Linked DNA regions of Homo sapiens: all the other regions are linked to region 2. Evidence: promoter capture Hi-C in 16 types of primary human blood cells and fetal thymus (Javierre and others, 2016). All regions are on one chromosome and are shown on one strand. Each heading gives the region's core, a stretch centred on a gene start or on the middle of the fragment in contact. The rest is flanking DNA. Distances are from core to core; before and after follow the strand shown. Region 1 overlaps KIAA0232. Region 2 holds the start of MRFAP1 (Morf4 family associated protein 1). Region 3 overlaps KIAA0232. Region 4 has its middle 22 kb from the start of TBC1D14. Region 5 overlaps KIAA0232. Region 6 has its middle 12 kb from the start of KIAA0232.

Region 1 (3,255 bases), core at 556-3,055, 220 kb after region 2:
TCCTCTGTTCTGATTCAGACAGTGAAGTGTTTCACCCCAGGATATGTGGTGTTGACAGAACACAATACAGGGCTATTCGGATCTCTCCTCGGACTCACTTTCGCCCAATTTCTGCATCCGAACTGTCCCCAGGAGGAGGAAGCGAGTCAGAATTTGAATCTGAGAAAGATGAAGCAAATATTCCCATTCCTTCTCAAGTTGATATATTTGAAGATCCGCAGGCAGATCTCAAACCTTTGGAAGAAGATGCAGAGAAAGAAGGCCATTACTATGGAAAATCAGAGCTTGAGTCTGGAAAATTCCTTCCCAGGTTAAAAAAATCTGGGATGGAAAAGAGTGCTCAGACATCACTGGATTCCCAGGAGGAATCAACTGGGATTCTTTCAGTAGGAAAGCAAAATCAGTGTTTGGAATGTAGCATGAATGAATCCCTGGAAATAGATTTAGAAAGCTCAGAAGCAAATTGTAAAATAATGGCACAATGCGAGGAAGAAATTAATAATTTTTGTGGTTGCAAAGCAGGTTGTCAGTTTCCTGCTTATGAAGATAATCCAGTTTCTTCGGGACAGCTGGAAGAGGTATGTGTCTGCGTGTTGGTATTTGACAAAAGGATTTGATCAGAGTTTAACCCAAGAACAGACATGCCAGTCAATGAAAGATAGGGTTAAATTATTGGGAAATTAGCTTAAATGTCTTAAAACTTAAATTGTTCTAATTTTACATGTAAGGACTTAAAATGGATTTGATATTTATGAATTTGAACTAGACAGTAGAGTTTTTCTGGAGAGAAAAAGCTTTTAAAAATCACAGGATGTAAGATTCCTATGTGTTGTCTTAAGATGCATGTTATTGGCCGGGTGCAGTGGCTCACGCCTGTAATCCCAGCACTTTGGGAGGCCGAAGTGGGTAGATCATTTGAGGTCAGGAGTTCAAGACCAGCTTGGCCAACATGGTGAGACCCCGTCTCTACTAAAAATACAAAAATTACCCAGGCGTGGTGGCAGGCACCTGTAATCCCAGCTCCTTGGGAGGCTGAGGCAGGAGAATCACTTGAACCCGAGAGGCAAAGGTTGCAGTGAGCCGAGATCGTGTTCTGTACTCCAGCCTGGGTGACAGGGTGAGACTCCATCTCAAAAAAAAAAAAAAAAAAAAAATACATGTATTATGCTTAAAGCAAAAACCTAACATGAAAGTGTTCTAACATTCAAAGTTGATGAATCAGGAAGTGGCTGCTATTAAAGTGTAGCAAACCTGTCTAACTGACTCTTAGAAGTTGATCACTTTATCAAAACTTGTGTTTTACATATAAAACAAATTATATCTCTATGGAGTTCTCAAAAATACATTGTGGTACATGTAGAAATTCACCCACAGCCCAAATGCAACAAAATTTCTTCTACAGAACCTATACAGATGTATCTTGCTTTATACAAAGTACATATTCCAGAAGCTGTGTGGATTATATGTTAAGGCTATGGAATGAGGATCACATTAAGTTGTGTTAATGAGAGTCATTGTACCTCTCCACTGTATGCCCAAGAAATGGCTTAAGGTTAAACTGATTGTACAAGAAATAACACTTAAGACAATAAACTGTTTCACAAAAAAAGCACAGCAGTCTGCCCATTTTTCCACTGTTTTCGATATGTGAGTGCCTAGCCTTTCTCCAGAAATAGTTTATTTAATTTTGTTTTTGTTTTTGTTTTGTTTTGGGGACAGAGTCTCGCTCTGTCGCCCAGGCTTGAGTGCAGTGGTGCGATCTCAGCTCACTGCAACCTCCACCTCCCAGGTTCAAGTGATTCTCCTGCCTCAGCCTCCCAAGTAGCTGGGATTAAAGGCATGCGCCACCACGCCCGGCTAATTATTTGTATTTTTAGTAGAGACGGGGTTTTACCAGGTTGGCCAGGCTGGTCTTGAACTCCTAACTTCAAGTGATCCACCTGCCTTGGCCTCCCAAAGTGTTGGGATTACAGGCGTGAGCCACCGCGTCCGGCCCAGCTTATTGAAAAAAAGAGATGGAGGTGTTTAGAAGCCATGCCACCTGTGGCCAGAGAGCAGATGAGTGTTGCACTTCCTCCCAACTGTCCTGCACACCCTACCCACCATTGCACATCCAAATCCTACCCATACCATGAGACTTATTTCATATACCACCTCCTTCACTGACACTTTCCCTAATTCCCTCTCTCCCCTGCTCCAGCCCCACTCTGCATCAGAATTAATTTTGCCCCTCTCTTAATTTTCATGCACTTTATGCCTCTTTTTGATTGCATTTTTCATTTCTCATGAGTTATTTATATCCTGGACTATAAGCTCCTTGTGGCTGTGGACCATGCCTTACTTATTTGTCGCATCAGAGTGCCCAGGTGTGGGACTGCTTGCCTGTGATTCTAGGAAGCCCCCAGGCGACTTGAGAGGCACTGCTCTAATCAGCTACCTAGAGACCCGTAGAGGATGAATTTAATCCCATTGAAACACTGCTAAGAAAAAACCCAATAATATTGTTAGCCTTTATCTGTTTGTTTATTGCCCCATTTTTCATCCTTAAATATTCCTTTATGTACTTTGTATTTCACCTGGTTCCAGATTGGGAAGAAAGAAAAAGAGGAAAGAAGCAAGATTCTACATCATACCACTACCATATTCCTTCGCTTTCTAGTATGTTGATGTATTTATGTGTTATCAGAATTCCGGGTTTCCTTGAAAGGTCTTAGCTGCCAAAAAAATTCCCAGAGGACATTTTGGGATTGTCTGATAGTTTAGATGTTGTCAGCACTGCTCTCTCGGCAGCATTGTTATACTTTAGAAGCCAGGTTGAAGCTTACTTCATAGATTCATCTGAGATGTGCAGGAGGCTGAGTGACCTGAAGGGACAGTTTGGGGCCAGCCTGGGACTAGAACCTGTATCTTTCTGTTCTGTCACATTGCTTGGTCAGTCTGAAAGGTGCTTTTAAGAGGATGTGCTTCCGGCCCTTTTCCTGAGTCAGTACAGTCTTTTCAGGAAGCAATCTGGGAGGCCTGTTTAAAGATCAGTAGAACCCCATCTGTTTCAGACTTAGATGATGAAAATGTAGGATTTCCGATAGAACTGGTGTCTAAGAGCATGAAAATAATATGATTATTTTCAAAAGTTTAGTTCAATTCAGCAAACATTTAGTGAGTACCTGTTTACATGCCTGTTGCTAAAGTAGGTGTCCTGGATGAATAAGACTTTGTCCTTGCCCATACAGAATTCAGCGTAGTGAAGATGACCAA
Region 2 (2,943 bases), core at 24-2,523:
GAAAACTACTCTTTAAAAAGGCAGAAAGGGCCAGGCGCACGGCTCATGCCTGTAATCTCTGCACTTTGGGAGGCCCGAAGTGGAAGGATCACTTGAGGCCAGAAGATCAAGGCTGCAGTGAGCCATGATCCCACCACTGGACTCCAGCCTGGGCGACAGACCGAGACCCTGCCTCAATAAAAAAAAAAAACTTTTTAAATAATAATAAGTAAATAAGGCCCGGCACGGTGGCTTACGCCTGTAATCCCAGCACTTTGGGAGGCCGAGGTGGATGGATCACGAGGTCAGGAGATCGAGACCATCCTGGCTAACACGGTGAAACCCCGTCTCTACTAAAAATACAAAAAATTAGCCGGGTGCGGTGGCAGGCGCCTGTAGTCCCAGCTACTCGCGAGGCTGAGGCAGGAGAATGGTGTGAACCCCGGAGGTGGAGTTTGCAGTGAGCCGAGATCGTGCCACTGCACTCCAGCCTGGGCGATAGAGCCAGACTCTGTCTCCAAAAAAAAAAAAAAAAAAAGTAAATAAAACGGCTGAGGGGACTCAGGTCCCCCTGCGTGAAAGGAAGGGGCTTTAAGCGTCCACCTGGGGTAGCTGCATTATCACGTAGGATCCTCCTCTTCTAGTGTGGAAGGCCCTTTTTAATTTTCATTTATATTTTATTTATTTATTTTGCGACGGAGTCTCACTCTGATGCACAGGCTGGAGAGCAGTGGCGCGATATGGGCTCACTGCAACCTCCGCCTCCCGTTTTCAAACGATTGTCTCAGCCTCCCAAGCAGCTGGGGTTACACGCGTGCAACACGACGCCCGGCTAATTTTTGTATTTTTGGTAGAGACGGGGTCTCGCCATGTCGGCCAGGCTGGTCTCGAATTCCTGACCTCAAGCCATCCACCCACCTCGCCTCCCAACGTGCTGAGATTACAGGCGTGAGCCACCGCGCCTGGGAAGTGCGGGAGGCCTTTTTAAAAAATGTAAACTCGCGTGCTCAAGAAGCCCTATCGGAGGGAAACACCCAGAAGAGGCCACCCTCCAAACACAGGGTAAAACAGGGGTGACGCACAGAGGTAACGGGAAAGCAGGAACGAGCGAGAGCGTGCGGTCCCGTACCTGCGCGTGCCTGCGTGCGCGTCCGTGCGGCCGCGACGCCGCCGCCGGTGCCTCTCTTTCTAGACGTGCGCGCGCCCGCAGCTCGCCCCCCTGACCGTAAAGAGGCCCGGCTGTGTCGTGAAAGGGGCCGCAACGCGCAGAGCGCTGGTTGACGGCCGGGACTCCATTTTGTTCGCCGTTACTCTGCGCGTAAGTCGCTTGTCCGTGGCTTCTCTGAGAAGAAAAGTTGAAAAAGGGTAAAAGTTTTCAGGAATATTCGGGCTCTCTATTGCTAAGCATAGCGAGTGTCGGTTTTCTCTCTCCAACAGACATCGCTATTGCGGTTCCGAGGCAGTGGGAAGAGATGCGGCCCCTGGACATCGTCGAGCTGGCGGAACCGGAGGAAGTGGAGGTGCTGGAGCCCGAGGAGGATTTCGAGCAGTTTCTGCTCCCGGTCATCAACGAGATGCGCGAGGACATCGCGTCGCTGACGCGCGAGCACGGGCGGGCGTACCTGCGGAACCGGAGCAAGCTGTGGGAGATGGACAATATGCTCATCCAGATCAAAACGCAGGTGGAGGCCTCGGAGGAGAGCGCCCTCAACCACCTCCAGAACCCGGGCGACGCGGCCGAGGGCCGGGCGGCCAAGAGGTGCGAGAAGGCCGAGGAGAAGGCCAAGGAGATTGCGAAGATGGCAGAGATGCTGGTGGAGCTGGTCCGGCGGATAGAGAAGAGCGAGTCGTCGTGAGCGCGGTCGGCGGTAAGTCGGGCACCCGCGCCAGGCCGAGGAGCGGCCCCAGCTTGGCCGCTCTTCGAGAGCGATGATTTCATCGAGATGCACCGGAATCGGGGGTGGGGCGGGAGAATAAAGGCGTGCTCGGGTCAGGGCCGATCTGGGCCCCGTCTTCGTGTTTTGTTTTTTGACGGTGGCGGCGTGGGATAATCAGAGTGGCCGGGTTTGGGCGTGATGCGTGTTCAGTGGAAGGGTCATAAATCTCAGAGTCGCCAAGGAAACAGAAACGGACAAGGTCCCGGGCCGTCCAGCAAGCGGGGGTGGAAATAGAGGATTTTCGGGGAAGACGTTGGACAAGTCAACGTTGCTAGAGACTGGAGTGAGTCAGGTGGTGGCCAGAAGAGGTGGCGTCCTGCACAGTGGCGTTCGTGAGGGTTTGGGGGTCGTTGTGCCTGGGATTAACCTCTCGATGATGAATTTCTTCCCATTGTGCTTTAGGTTTCCAGCCAATGGATTCTGGTCAACTGGTGGAGATTGGCTGACACCCTGGAGAAGCCGAAACCAGAGAGCCTTTTGTTTTCTCTTTTTTCCTGTCTATGCTCTGTCTCACTTAACACTACGTTTTCTGCTATGGTCTGTGGTTGATGACCTCAATATGAGTTTCGATTGTTAACGTGTTTTTGTTTGGGAAGTAATTTTGTTTGAAAATGCTCTCACATACAGGAATTAGGGCCTAGATTGTAAGCTCTTGCAGCAGTCACATTTGTTCCCGGGCTTTGGTGGTTATTTCTAAATTTTTGAGGTGCTTTGCTATTTCTTGTGTGACCTGATAGCTCCCTGGAACTTTGGGTCTGTGTGTGACACATGAGACTCACAGTTGGAGTTCTCCAGCTCTGGAGGTGCTGAAGGAGCTGCATTAATTCTGGAAGACGACTCCATGCAGCAACTACTGAAGAAAGGACCAGACTTCAACGGGGAGTGTGGATGGGCCGACCTGGCTGGGACTCGTGAATCTGGAGAAGAGCTGGAGAATGGATAGTATTGTCTGTATTTGGAGACTTTAATTTCTGTGTGAGACCAAAGGAGGAGAGATGTGTTTTGTTCAAAATTTAAATTTGTTGTG
Region 3 (2,966 bases), core at 365-2,864, 160 kb after region 2:
TGGTGGTATGCACCTGTAATCCCAGCTACGCAGGAGGCTGATGCAGGAGAATCACTTTAACCCAGGAGGTGGAGGTTGTGGTGAGACGAGATCATGCCACTGCACTGCAGCCTGGGCGACAGAGGGAAACTCCGTCTCAAAAAAAAAAAAGAAAATTTGGAGGAAAAGACCTTGCTCATTATACTTGTTTGAATTCTGTAAATGAAGTAAGCAGAATGGCAGAAATGTCATTTGGTAACATTTTATATAGTTTTGGGTCACATAGAAAATGCAGAGCCAGGTTGGCTCCTGGGCTCATCACTCTGAAAGGTTATGTGAGGGGGGTGATACGAAGAGCCCAGTTAGGAAGGGCAGGCAGGTTCTTAAGGGTTTGTTCAGTTCAGCAGTGCTTTTCCAACAGCTTATTAACATGGAATGTAGTGGGAATACAAATATAAATATAGACAGAGTTCTTGATAATTTGGTCATAGGATAATTTGTAATTTTCTTAGTTTGTAGGAAATTAAGTTCAGCAGCTGGGTATTGAACCAGGATGTGGAATTGTCAGCATTTCCCCAAATCTTGATGTGTTAGACCTGTTGTGTCCAGTAGAACTTTGTTTGATAATGGAAATGTTCACTGTCTTTTCTATTCAGTATCCACTGGCTACATGGGGCTATTAACACTGGAAATGTGGCTTGTGCCATTAAAGAACTGAATTTTCAATTTTATTTAATTTTAATTAATTAAAATGTAAATAGCCACTAGTGGCTACCATATTCATTGGACAATGCAGTTCTAGAGATTCATTTCACCTTTGTTCAGTTCACCTTTGTTCAAAGAATAAGTGGATGGTGGTTATAGGAGACTGAAAAGATGCCACTAGGCCAGGCATGGTGGCTCATGCCTGTAATCCTGGCCCTTTGGGAGGCTGAGGTGGGAGGATTGCTTGAGCCTAGGAGTTCGTGACCAGCCTGAGCAATGTAGTGCGACCCTATCTCTACCAAAGAAAAAAGCTGGACTTGATGGCCACACACTTGTCGTCTTAGCTACTCTGGAGGCTGAGGTGGGAGGATTGCTTGAGCCCAGGAATTCCAAGCTGCAGCGAACTATGATTGCTCCACTGCACTCCAGACTGGGTGACAGGACGAAAAGGAAAAAAAAAAAAGAGAAAGGTGCTATTAAGTGGCTTACAGTGCTTAGGACTTTAATTAGCATATCCATGTTTTTAAATGTAGAACATAGGGTTTTCATAAAGTAGAAACGTGGATTCTGGTTTATTTGCAGTACAAAGAAAAATACAGGGCCTGCGAGGATGATCATTTTGTGCATGTGCTGAAATCATACTCTTTTAGCTTTAGAAGTTATTTGTATACATGCCACCATTACCTTCCAGATAAAGTTTGTATCCCTCACTGTGTATTGCACATAATAAATACCCACTAAATGGTGGTGGGTATTTATTTATGCAATAAAGGGGCCCTTGATCCTGATAGGGCTGTTAGTTCCTTCATGAGTGTCACAAGTTGGGTTCTCTGGGAAGGCGGGTACTTTGGGAAGCAAATGCAGACAATTTAGCATGCAGAATGTTGATTAGGGCTTGCTCGTAGGGTCCAGACTCAGGGAATGGAGAAGTTGAACTACCTTGCATGCCCAATTATAGCATAGCCTTGGCCAACCCCATTAGAATAGCCCGTGGGAGCTGTCCCGGCTTGGGCTGGGTAGCCAGGCCTGTACGCTCTCTGAGTCAGTCAGGATGACTTGCCTGGAAGAGGGCAAGATGTCGGGTGAGGCAGTTCTCTGTAGCCACAGCAGTACTTGAAGGGGCTGACGGAGCACTCCCAGCAGCTGGGGCTGCATGGCCTTCAGTTGAGGGTCTGGGTTGTACATCACAGCGTGCCATGGTTGGACAATATTTTTCTTAGAAATTTTTTGATTGATTTCATTTGACTCATTGGTTGGCGTTCTGGAGAAATATGGGGTAAGTCTCTTTCTCTTTCTCTGTGACTCTTCTCAACCCCCCCCAACCCACCAGCCCCCTTACTAAATAACTATGTGTGTGTGTGTCTTATGTACGAACAGAGTTACAGTGCACAATTAACCTTTTCTTCTGATGGAAGTTGACTCCAACCAGAATGCTTCATCTTCACGTCTTCCCCAAGGACATAAAGACAGAAAGGGGATTTTGCTATAACATAGAATACAGAGTGGTGATTCAGGTATAGAGCAAGGTGTGGTATGTTGGTGATGTAAGGAGCACAGAGGAATGAAATTAATTGGTGTGAGGTTCTCTCAAGGAAGGAAAAAATGACAGAAGGTTGAAAGAAGAGTAATAGTCGAATATGAGTGCATATAGCTGGGGGCAGTGGCTCATGCTTGTAATCCCAACTCTTTAGGTGGCTGAGATGGAAGGATCACTTGAGGTCAAGAGTTCAGGACCAGCCTAGGCAACATACTGGGCATACTTGAGCAACATACTCTGTCTTGACCAAAAAAAAAAAAAAAAAAAAAAGCCAGGTTTGGTGGGTGCATGCTTGTGGTCCCTGCTACTGTGGAAGGTGAGGTGGGAGGATCACTTGAGCCCAGGAGTTCTAGGCTGTAGTAAGCTATGATTGTACCACTGCACCTCCAGCCTGGATGACAGAAGAATACTTTACCTCTTGAAAGAAATTAAAATGAGTGCATATATATATATATATATATATATGGACTTTCTCATATAAATTGAAGCCCAGCTCCCTTAAGTTCAAATGGAAATATTCCATGAGTAGTTGGAAATATAGATTGAGAAGACAAGGTAAGAGAAAGATTTGTAGGGGGTGACTTTTGATAAATTACACAAATCTTTGACATTATCAAACATGAATGCCAAACATTGAAACATGAATGTTCAAGGGTCTGTCACACAGCTCTCAAGTTATCTGGTTACTGGTAGTTAGGTAATAGTTGGAAGATTCCAGTAGTTACGTAGTTACTGGTAGTTAGAA
Region 4 (2,967 bases), core at 297-2,796, 250 kb after region 2:
AGCTGCTCTGTTTTACAGATGAGTAAACTGAGGCACAATGGGGCATTAGGCACTTGCAGTCTCACACTTGGTGGATGCTGGAGCCCGAATTCACCTTGGGCACTGACTGCAGAGTCCATTTAACACTGAAACCTCCATCTCACAAAATCCCACTCATTAAGTTACGTATTGTCTCTGGGCACGGTGGCTCATGCCTGTTAACCCAGCACTTTGGGAGGCCAAGGTGGGCGGATCACCTGAGGTCAGGAGTTCCGAGACCAACCTGGCCAACATGGTGAAACCCCGTCTCTACTAAAACTACAAAAATTAGCCAGGCATAATGACAGGCGCCTGTAATCCCAGCTACTCCGGAGGCTGAGGCAGGAGAATCACTTGAACCCGGGAGGCAGAGGTTGTGGTGATCTGAGATCGCGCCACTGCACTCCAGCCTGGGTGACAGCAAGACTCCGTCTCAAAAAAAAAAGTTATGTATTGTCTGCGTACTTGCAGGGAGTCCTGCTGTGTCAGCCCCGGCTGTGTGTCCTTGGGCGAGTTACTCAGTCTCACACGTTGGTATCTTTAGATGTAAATGGAGATCATAACTGGACCTCTCTCCTAAGGGTTGGTTATAAACATAAAATAGTCCATCTGCATAAATACTAGAGTGCAAACTAAAAAGTACCTGAGACAGACCTCAATTAATTTAGAAGTGTATTTTGCCAAGACTCAGGACACACCTGAGAGAGAGAGGTCTGTGCCTTTCTCCAAAGATGATTTTGAGAGCTTCTGTATTTAAAGGGGAAAAGTGGGCTGGAGGGGGAAGGGGGAGGGTGTGGTCACACGACTGAATCCACAGGTTGCGAGAGAAAAGGAGCAGGTAGGGGAGTAGTCAATTAGGTATTTGACTTGTACGCACTAAATCCTCACTTTACGTAAGATACAGTGAACACAGAGTAGCTACCTGTGGAGATAGCTGGCCTTTTTGTTTTGTTTTGTTTTTTGGACAGGATCTCACGCTTACCCAGGATGGAGTGCAGTGGCGTGATCTCGATCTTGGCTCACTGCAGCCTCAGCCTCCCGAGTAGCTGGAACCACAGGTGTGCGCCACCACACCCAGCTAATTTTTGTATTTTTTGTAGACAGAGGTTTCACCATGCTGCCCAGGCTGGCCGTGAATTCTTGGGCTCAAGCAATGCTTCCACCTCGGCCTTTCAAAGTGCTGGGATTACAGTCGTGAAGCCACCGTGCCTGGCCTGTCTGGCCCTTTCGCTGTAGCTATCTGCTTAAGAACATAAGGAAACGCAGCTTCTTGCATGAGTCTATTCTCATCTTAAGTATTTCCTTTTAGCACAGTGAATTACGGTCCCACGTTTTTATTTTCCTTTCACACTGGACTCAAAAAAAGCAAAAACGGAAATGCAAAAGAGAAGTTGCAGCACTGAGTCCAGTAACTAAGGAGACAGTTGCCTCTTTGCAGGCGGTCTCTCACTCCCTGCCCTCCCCCCTGTGCTAGCAGAGCCCTTTAAGGGCCCTTGTTGGATCTGCAGCTCCAGGCCTGCCTAGTCAGCGGGGGTCAGCAGGGGTCAGCCCCACAGAGGCCATTCATCCTTGAGTGCTGACCACAGTGCTGTCACCATGATCTCGCCCTGAAGGGAGGTCACGCTATCCCTTCGACACAGGAGACCAACTCCTTTGGCTGTCCTTGGCTCCCAGTGGTGGCTGAACCAGAGGGCAGGGGCCAGGGCAGCAGCAGAGCCAAGTGTGCCCACTGGGGCCGAGGGCTCTGGCCACCACGTCCGTTGGGGAGGATGGTGGGGAGGGCCCTGGCCTTGCAGCGAGGGGGCAGGCACACGGTCTCCCACTTCCTATCACAGTCCAGGGGTGGGGAGGACCCCACCCTCTGGCCCTGTCACAGGTGGGGACAGTGACCCTCCCCTTCCAGGTGAGGCTACATTTTGAGGCTGAGGAGCACACGAAATGCTGGTCCTCAGCAGCGCTAAGGCCAGGAGCCCCTGATGTGTGAGTTTGTGTGGGGATGTTGCCCCTGAGGAGGGGTGATAGGAAGAGCCCCCTCCTCGTGAGCTGTGACCCTGAGCCAGTGGCTCTCTCAACTGTGAGATGGGGACCCTTCTCCCTCCCAGGGCTAGGGGAGGAGAACTGGCAGGCAAAGTGTCCGCTCATTTCCCTGAATAGAATACAGGCTCCCTCCTGAGGGTTTCTTGCCGTCCCCACGTGGTCCCTCCCAGCCCTCACAGTGGGCACCAGCAGTGCTGTCCCTCCTGCCCGGGGCCCTAGAGGGAGGAGGAAGACGTGAGTCCTGGGACTGGGCAGGGAGACAGGTCAGTCCCCGCTCCACGAGTTCCTGGAGCCCTCGGGTCTACCCTGCTCTGACCGAGCTGCTATGGGTAGAGCAGATCTACCTACGGCCCATCATCTCTGCGTCTTTCCCAGCAGTCTCAGGGTGTCTGTCACCGAGGCTGAGAACCCAAAGTTCTGGCCCAGGAGCACCCGGCAGAGGTGTGAGCCGGGGTCTGCCGATGGCTCATCTGATTCCCAAGTGCAGTGCTGCTTTCCCACTACCGTGGCCTCCACAAACCAGCGCTGTGCCCCCGCTACCGCCGCCACTCCCAGGGGGCCAAGTCCCACACCTTCAGACCCTCAAGACGGGAGCCGGAAGCCACCGCGGAACTAAAGTCTGGGAACCCCCCTTGGGGCGCTCAGGATTCACCCGCGCATGTGGCTGGGCACAGGCCTGTCCTCCAGGAGACTGCAGGCTGGGGACCCAAGGGTGACACCACAGGCTGCCCGCGCTTTGTGCGCAAAGCCAGGAGCGCTCTTCAGTGAAGTGGAGGCGGCACTGCGAGAACCCCGGACTGGGCGCTGCGACCGCAGACTCAAGGTCGCGGCGCCTCAGGGATCACTGGGGGCTTGAGTGAGCCCTGACCCTCTCCTGGGCCTTCCTATGCAGCGAGGGGCCGGACCCTGTGG
Region 5 (2,870 bases), core at 118-2,617, 180 kb after region 2:
GTGCATCTGACACAGGTCCAATATCCAGAATCTATTGGAAACTTAAACAGTTCAACAAGAAAAAAAAGACCCCACTAAAAAGTGGGCAAAAGACATGAACAGACAATTTTCAAAAGAAGACATACAAGCAGCCAACAAATGTATAAAAAAAGTTCCACATCGCTGATTATCAGAGAAATGCAAATCAAAACCACAATGAGTTAACATCTCACAACAGTCAGAATGGCTGTCATTAGAAGTTAAAAAACAGATGCTAATGAGGCTGCAGAGAAAAGGGAACACTCATGCACTGTTGGTGGGAATCTAAATTAGTTCAGCCACTGTGGAAAGCAGTTTGGAGATTTCTCAAAGAACTTAAAACAGAACTACCATTTGACCCAGCAATCCCATTACTAGCTACATCTCAGAAAAGAAATTATTCTACCAAAAAGACACATGTACTCATATGTTCATCACGGCACTATTCACACTAGCAAAGATACGGAATCAACCTAGGTGCCCATCAACAGTGGATTGCATAAATAAAATGTGGTACATATATACCATGGAATACTATGCAGCCATTAAAAAAAGAATGAAACCATGTCCTTTGCAGCAACGTGGATGCAGCTGGAGGATAATATCCTAAGTGAATTAACGTAGGAACAGAAAATAAAATACTGTGTGTTCTCACTTAGAAGTGGGAGTTAAACATCAGTTACTTGTGGATGTAAAGGTGACAGCACTAAACACTGAAGACTGCTATAGTGATGAGGGAGGGAGGCAGTAGGTGTTGAAAAAACTAACTGTTGGGTACTGTACTCAGTACCTGGGCAATGGAATAATTCATACCCCAAACCTCAGCATCATGCAACATACCCAGGTAACAAACTTGCACACGTACCCCCTGAATCTAAAATAAAAGTTAAAAAGAAAAAAGAAGACGCCACATCTTACTTGGGTAGAGCAGGTAGAGAAGTTTGGGGAAAAGCTGGCATGTTTAGGCTACATCTACCAGATTGACATTTAGGAATATAAATTTGAATTCTGTGGAAAAAATTAAGTGGAGGGTTTGTTTTTTAATAGGCAGCATATAATTAGGTGTTGCTGTTTTAAAATTCAGTGTATCTCTGCCTTTTAATTGATGTGTTTAGGTCATTTACATTCATTATTATTAACAGCTATGTTATTAGAATTTGTCTTCAAATGATAAACCATTTTCATACAAGAACTTAATAATAGTATTCTTACATTTCCCCACTCCTGGCCTTTATCCTACTGTTGGCTTATGTTTTACTTATATGTATGTTATTAAATAAAAGCTCTACAATGTTTTGTATTATTTTTGTTTAAGCAATTGTCTTTTAAAGATATTTAAATAATAAGACAAATGTTGTTATTTCTGGTGCTCTTTGTTCCCTTGAATGGATCCACATTTTGTTCTGTCTTAGTCTGTTTTCTGTTGCTATAACAGAATGACACAGATTAGGTATTTATAAAGAATAGTTTATTTGGCTCACAGTTCCTGGAGGCTGGGAAGTCCAAAAGCATGGCACTGGCCTGTAGTGAGGGTCATGCCATGGCAGAAAGCATCACATGATGGGGAGGGTAAGAGGAGGCGAGAGTGCTTGAGACAGAAATGGGGCTGAACTTATCCTTTTATCAGGAGCCCACTCCTGTGACATGAAGTTGGAGCCCTCATGACCTAATCACCTCTTAAAGGTCTTACCTCTTAATACCATCACAATGGCAGTTAAATTTCAACATGAGGCTTGGAGGTGATATTTAAATCCATAGCATTTGCTGGCGATAAATTCCTTCAGTTTTTGCATATCAGAGAAAGCATTTGTTTCACTTTCATTTTGAAAGTTTTTAATTTTTTGCTTTTTATTTTTATTTTTTATTTCCATAGGTTTTTGGGGAACAGGTGATAGTTACATGAGTAAGTCCTTTAGTGGTGATTTCTGAGATTTTGGTGCACCCATCACCTGAGCGGCATACACTCTACCCAGTTTGTAGTCTTTTTATCTCTTACCCGTCTCCCACCCTTTCCCCCTGAATTTCCAAAGTCCACTGGTATCATTCTTATGCCTTTGCATCCTCATAGCTTAGCTCCCGCTTGTGAGTGAAAACATACAGTGTTTGGTTTTCTATTCCTATATTACTTCACTTAGAATAATGGTCTCTGGTTCCATCAGGGTCACTGCAAATGCCATTACTTCGTTCCTTTTTGTGGCTGAGTAGTAGTCCATGGTGTATATATATACACACATATATACACATATCTATATATATATACGTGTATATAGATACGTGTATATACGTGTATGTGTATACATATATACATGTATATATGTGTGTGTGTGTGTGTGTATATATATATATGTATATACATATACCACAATTTCTTTATCCCCTCATTGATTGATGGGCATTTGGGCTGGTACCATATTTTTGCAATAGCAAATTGTGCTGCTATAAATACGAACGAGTGTGCAAGTATCTTTTTGAAAGACACTTTCAATGAGTATAGAATTCTAGGTTGACAGTTTTTTTTTCTTTTAGTACTTTAAAGTTTTTGCTCCATTATCTGCTCACTTGCATTGTTTCCAGCAAGAAAACTGAGGTCATACTTATCTTTTGTTTGCTATATTTAATGTTTCTTTTTTCTCTGAGTGCTTTAAAATTTTTCTGTTTATGACAAGTTTGAGTAATTTTATTATAGTGTTCTAGGGGTCGTTTTCTTCATATTTCTTGCACGTCTCCAGAATTGAGTGTGTTATTTAATTGACAATATCTCTGGCATCCTGAGATCCAAATGTTAAATGAATTATGGAAAATGTTTTGAAAGTCAGTTGGAAAAGTTCAGCTGGTGAAAGTTACAGAAAATC
Region 6 (2,995 bases), core at 189-2,688, 130 kb after region 2:
CATACCTGGGTGCAGCTGCGGTTGTGGGGATGCCCCTTCTGAGCAGCTGCTGCCTCTGTGTGCTCCCCTTCCTCTCCCCACCCCCACTCTCTTCCCAGGTCTCCCTCTGCTTACTACCCAGCATGGGCAAAAGCAGCTGCACCCAGTATGGACCAATAGGGGCACACCCATTTCGAGGCACTAAATGTGGTGCTGATAACAGAGTCCCCAGGCCTGGCTTGGCCCAAGGATGGAGCACCCCAACACCCCAGCTGTCTCAGGGGCCCACTGCTCAGCCTGGCTCACTCCCCGAGGGTGGGTGGTTTCTAAGTGCAGCTGGTGGGCTTGTGTGTGATGGTGGACGGATCCTGGAGTTTAGCAGGGTGACTGTGGCCAAGCTGTTTCTCTCTGGGTCTGTTCCTTAGTGTTATTGATGTTGTTGACAGCTGACCGGTCCTGCACCGTACTAATCATTTTACATGGAGAAGCTCCATGTAAAGCTTCTAGGTTGTAATTCTCATCACAACCCCGTGAGGTAGTTCATATTATCACCTCCATTTTACAGATAAGGAAACTGAGGACCAGAGAGCTCAAACTGATGTGCCTTAGGTCACACAGCTAGTGATCAATTGAGCCAGGCCTTGAACCCAGACAGTCTGGCTCCAGGACAAGCCCGCACAATATCTATACAGAAACAGGGCCTGGTGCATTTTAGGGCTGCTGTGATTTTGTCCTTATCTGCAGGTGCTTTTACCTCTGATTTCATTCGCCCTATGACCTGTATGGTAGGTTTTATTACCTCGGTTTTATCACACTTTCATCCTCCTCCAGGGTAGAATCAGCTTACAGATGAGGTAACAGGCTCAGAGGGGTTAAGCAACTTCTCAGGTGTCCCACAGCTGGTACGTGTGACAACTCGAATTCAAAGAAGTCTCCTGACTCTCACTGCGGAGCCTCCCATTCAAGAGGGACCTCAAGGTGTCACAGAATTTAGACATACTGAACGTCCTTACTTTATGAGTCCAGATTCAAATCAGTAATAACGCAATGTCAGAGGAGTTGAAGAATTCTTTCATGTATTTGTCCATCCTTGTTCCACACCTTGTCCTAGGATCCTTGGGGTTGCAGTGGTGGGGATGGAACCATAGAGATGCACAAGCCATAGATTTAGGAACTGGAATTTCAGCAATGCTTTCGGGTCTTCTGACAAGGTGCAGGCAGGCCACCTTTCTTGTATGGCAGGGCAGGACAGGGCTGGCCTGTGTTCCAGTTCTGGCTGTGTCACTCCCATGCTGTGTGACTTAGGACAAGGCTCTGCTCTTTCTGTACATTGGGTCACCAAGCAGGGATGAGCTGCCTGGTGTGGTGACTCCAGGTGGCTCCAGGAGGAAGGCAGGGGCCCTCTCATGTGAGTAGCCACATTCCTCCCTATGGCTTGTCCACAAAATAAGGGGACCTCACGGAGACAGCTCTGTGCACCTGTCATGCTGTATCGTTGGAGGGATTGGAGCAAGGCTGCAGCTTCCTTGGGGTTGGATCATCACAGGGGCCATAGTCATGAAGCCGATTGGCTGTGAACTTGGGCTGTGGGGTCCAAAGACCCAGGGTTAACTCCTGGCTCTGCCACCAGCCAGCTGTGTGACCTTAGCCAAGTTACTTAGCCTCTCTGAGCCTCAATTGCCTCATTCATAAAGTGGGGAACCTAGCACAGTGCCGAGCAGCTGCTCATTTACTGCAGGCACAGTCACTGAAGCTGAGAATTATGAAGCTGATGAGGATAGAGGGTCCAGCATAGAAAGTGCCACCTACAAGCACCTACTATGTGCCAAGACAAGGAGACAAGAAGGTGACGTGATTTACTTCTGGGCATACAGCAAGAACATGGCAAAGCTGGACCTGAGCATTGGGATGCATCAGCGCCTGCGGTGCCTGGTGGCTCTGAGCCTGTAGCAAGCTCCCTGGCTGAGGTCTGGGGCTGTGCCCTAGAGGAGGAGCCCCTACGGCCACTCCTGCTGGCCTGTGGCTGGGGCAGCATCAGCAGATGTCTTCAGTCCATCTGGCAGGTCTCACTTGCTTGGTCTGAGAACCTGCCCCACAGGCCTGAGCTCTGCAGGGAAAAGAAATAAAAATAGCCAGGTCTGAGAGGGCAGTGGCTGGGCCGTGGGCAGCAATGCGTGCCTTTCCCATGACTCCTGCTCTGCAGAGGAGAGTCCTTCCCTGAGCCGTCCTGTGTGCCAGGCCCTGGGCTGGGTGCCCGGGAAGCGAAGTTGTGGCAGGCAAAGCTGCTCCCCAGAGGAGCCCATAGCTTGGTGGGTAGAACATATTTGTCCAGTGCGGCACCTTGGGGTGGGGGCCCGAAAGGGCTAGCAGTGGAGCATTGCAAGAGAGACCCCCTCACCCACCTGGGGGAACACAAGGTAAGCTTCCAGAAAGAGGACACACTGGAGAAAACAGTTGTTAAGCAGAGTGGCGGGGGGCTTTCCAGGCAGTGGGACCAGCATTTGCAAAGGCAGAGAGGTGTGACAAGCATGTCCCATTGAGAGAAGTGTAAGTACCTGGGTACATCTGGAGGCTGGGGTGTCTATAGGGACAGGATGGAGGGTTGCGCTAGGAAAGCAGGGAGCCTGGGACTGTGGGGACGATGGGGAGCCAAGGGAGGTTATAAAGCAGGGGGTCACGATCTCTCCTTCTCAAGATCCATAGCCTTAATCCCATCAGCAAAGTCCCTTTTGCCAGGTAAGGTAACATAGTCGCTGGTTCCAGGGATTAGGAGGTACACTTCTTTGGGGGGTCATATTCTGCAGACCCTGTCTCTGTAATAAACTGCACTGAATCCTCGTCCAAAGGCTTCTAGGGACTCCAACTAAGACACCCCCAACCTTAATTCTGGTCCCTGGGCTCCCCGTCACAGGCCCCAGCACCAGATCCTTGGCTCAGCCCCTCCAAAAATCTTGGCAGGTCATTCTCTAAACAGGCGAGAGCTGGGTTCAAATCCTGCCTCTGCTGCTTACTTGAT

Evidence for each region. The method cuts DNA at HindIII sites, captures the fragments that hold promoters and counts their contacts. A CHiCAGO score of 5 or more calls a contact.
Region 1: a contact is called between a fragment that was not itself captured here and the fragment with the promoter of MRFAP1 in region 2, in 2 of 17 cell types (non-activated CD4 T cells and naive CD8 T cells). The highest score is 8.2, in non-activated CD4 T cells.
Region 3: a fragment that was not itself captured here is called in contact with the fragment with the promoter of MRFAP1 in region 2 in 2 of 17 cell types (neutrophils and naive CD8 T cells); the score reaches 9.2 in neutrophils.
Region 4: a fragment that was not itself captured here is called in contact with the fragment with the promoter of MRFAP1 in region 2 in 1 of 17 cell types (naive CD8 T cells); the score reaches 5.1 in naive CD8 T cells.
Region 5: a fragment that was not itself captured here is called in contact with the fragment with the promoter of MRFAP1 in region 2 in 2 of 17 cell types (neutrophils and naive CD8 T cells); the score reaches 7.9 in neutrophils.
Region 6: a fragment that was not itself captured here is called in contact with the fragment with the promoter of MRFAP1 in region 2 in 3 of 17 cell types (non-activated CD4 T cells, neutrophils and naive CD8 T cells); the score reaches 5.3 in non-activated CD4 T cells.

What each region holds. Positions count from the first base shown.
Region 1 is chr4:6,863,606-6,866,860 of GRCh38, forward strand. It overlaps KIAA0232, which reads left to right. Exons shown (of 10, transcript NM_014743.3): 7 at 1-578. Among named protein-coding and RNA genes, the nearest start is that of TBC1D14, 45 kb to the right of the region's middle. The HindIII fragment of the contact is 2,026 bases long and covers 793-2,818 here.
Region 2 is chr4:6,639,412-6,642,354 of GRCh38, forward strand. MRFAP1 (Morf4 family associated protein 1) reads left to right here and starts at 1,274. Exons shown (of 2, transcript NM_033296.3): 1 at 1,274-1,847; 2 at 2,319-2,943. The coding sequence starts at 1,452. The coding sequence ends at 1,835. It overlaps LOC124900653 (a long non-coding RNA gene), which reads right to left and starts at 1,210. Exons shown (of 2, transcript XR_007058007.1): 1 at 1,109-1,210. RefSeq lists an enhancer at 1-268 and a silencer at 2,242-2,311. The HindIII fragment of the contact is 23,430 bases long and covers 1-2,943 here.
Region 3 is chr4:6,800,543-6,803,508 of GRCh38, forward strand. The region is part of intron 1 of KIAA0232; the gene reads left to right. Among named protein-coding and RNA genes, the nearest start is that of KIAA0232, 19 kb to the left of the region's middle. The HindIII fragment of the contact is 7,315 bases long and covers 1-2,966 here.
Region 4 is chr4:6,886,590-6,889,556 of GRCh38, forward strand. No RefSeq gene overlaps it. Among named protein-coding and RNA genes, the nearest start is that of TBC1D14, 22 kb to the right of the region's middle. The HindIII fragment of the contact is 6,064 bases long and covers 1-2,967 here.
Region 5 is chr4:6,819,354-6,822,223 of GRCh38, forward strand. The region is part of intron 2 of KIAA0232; the gene reads left to right. Among named protein-coding and RNA genes, the nearest start is that of KIAA0232, 38 kb to the left of the region's middle. The HindIII fragment of the contact is 6,164 bases long and covers 1-2,870 here.
Region 6 is chr4:6,769,303-6,772,297 of GRCh38, forward strand. No RefSeq gene overlaps it. Among named protein-coding and RNA genes, the nearest start is that of KIAA0232, 12 kb to the right of the region's middle. The HindIII fragment of the contact is 1,922 bases long and covers 478-2,399 here.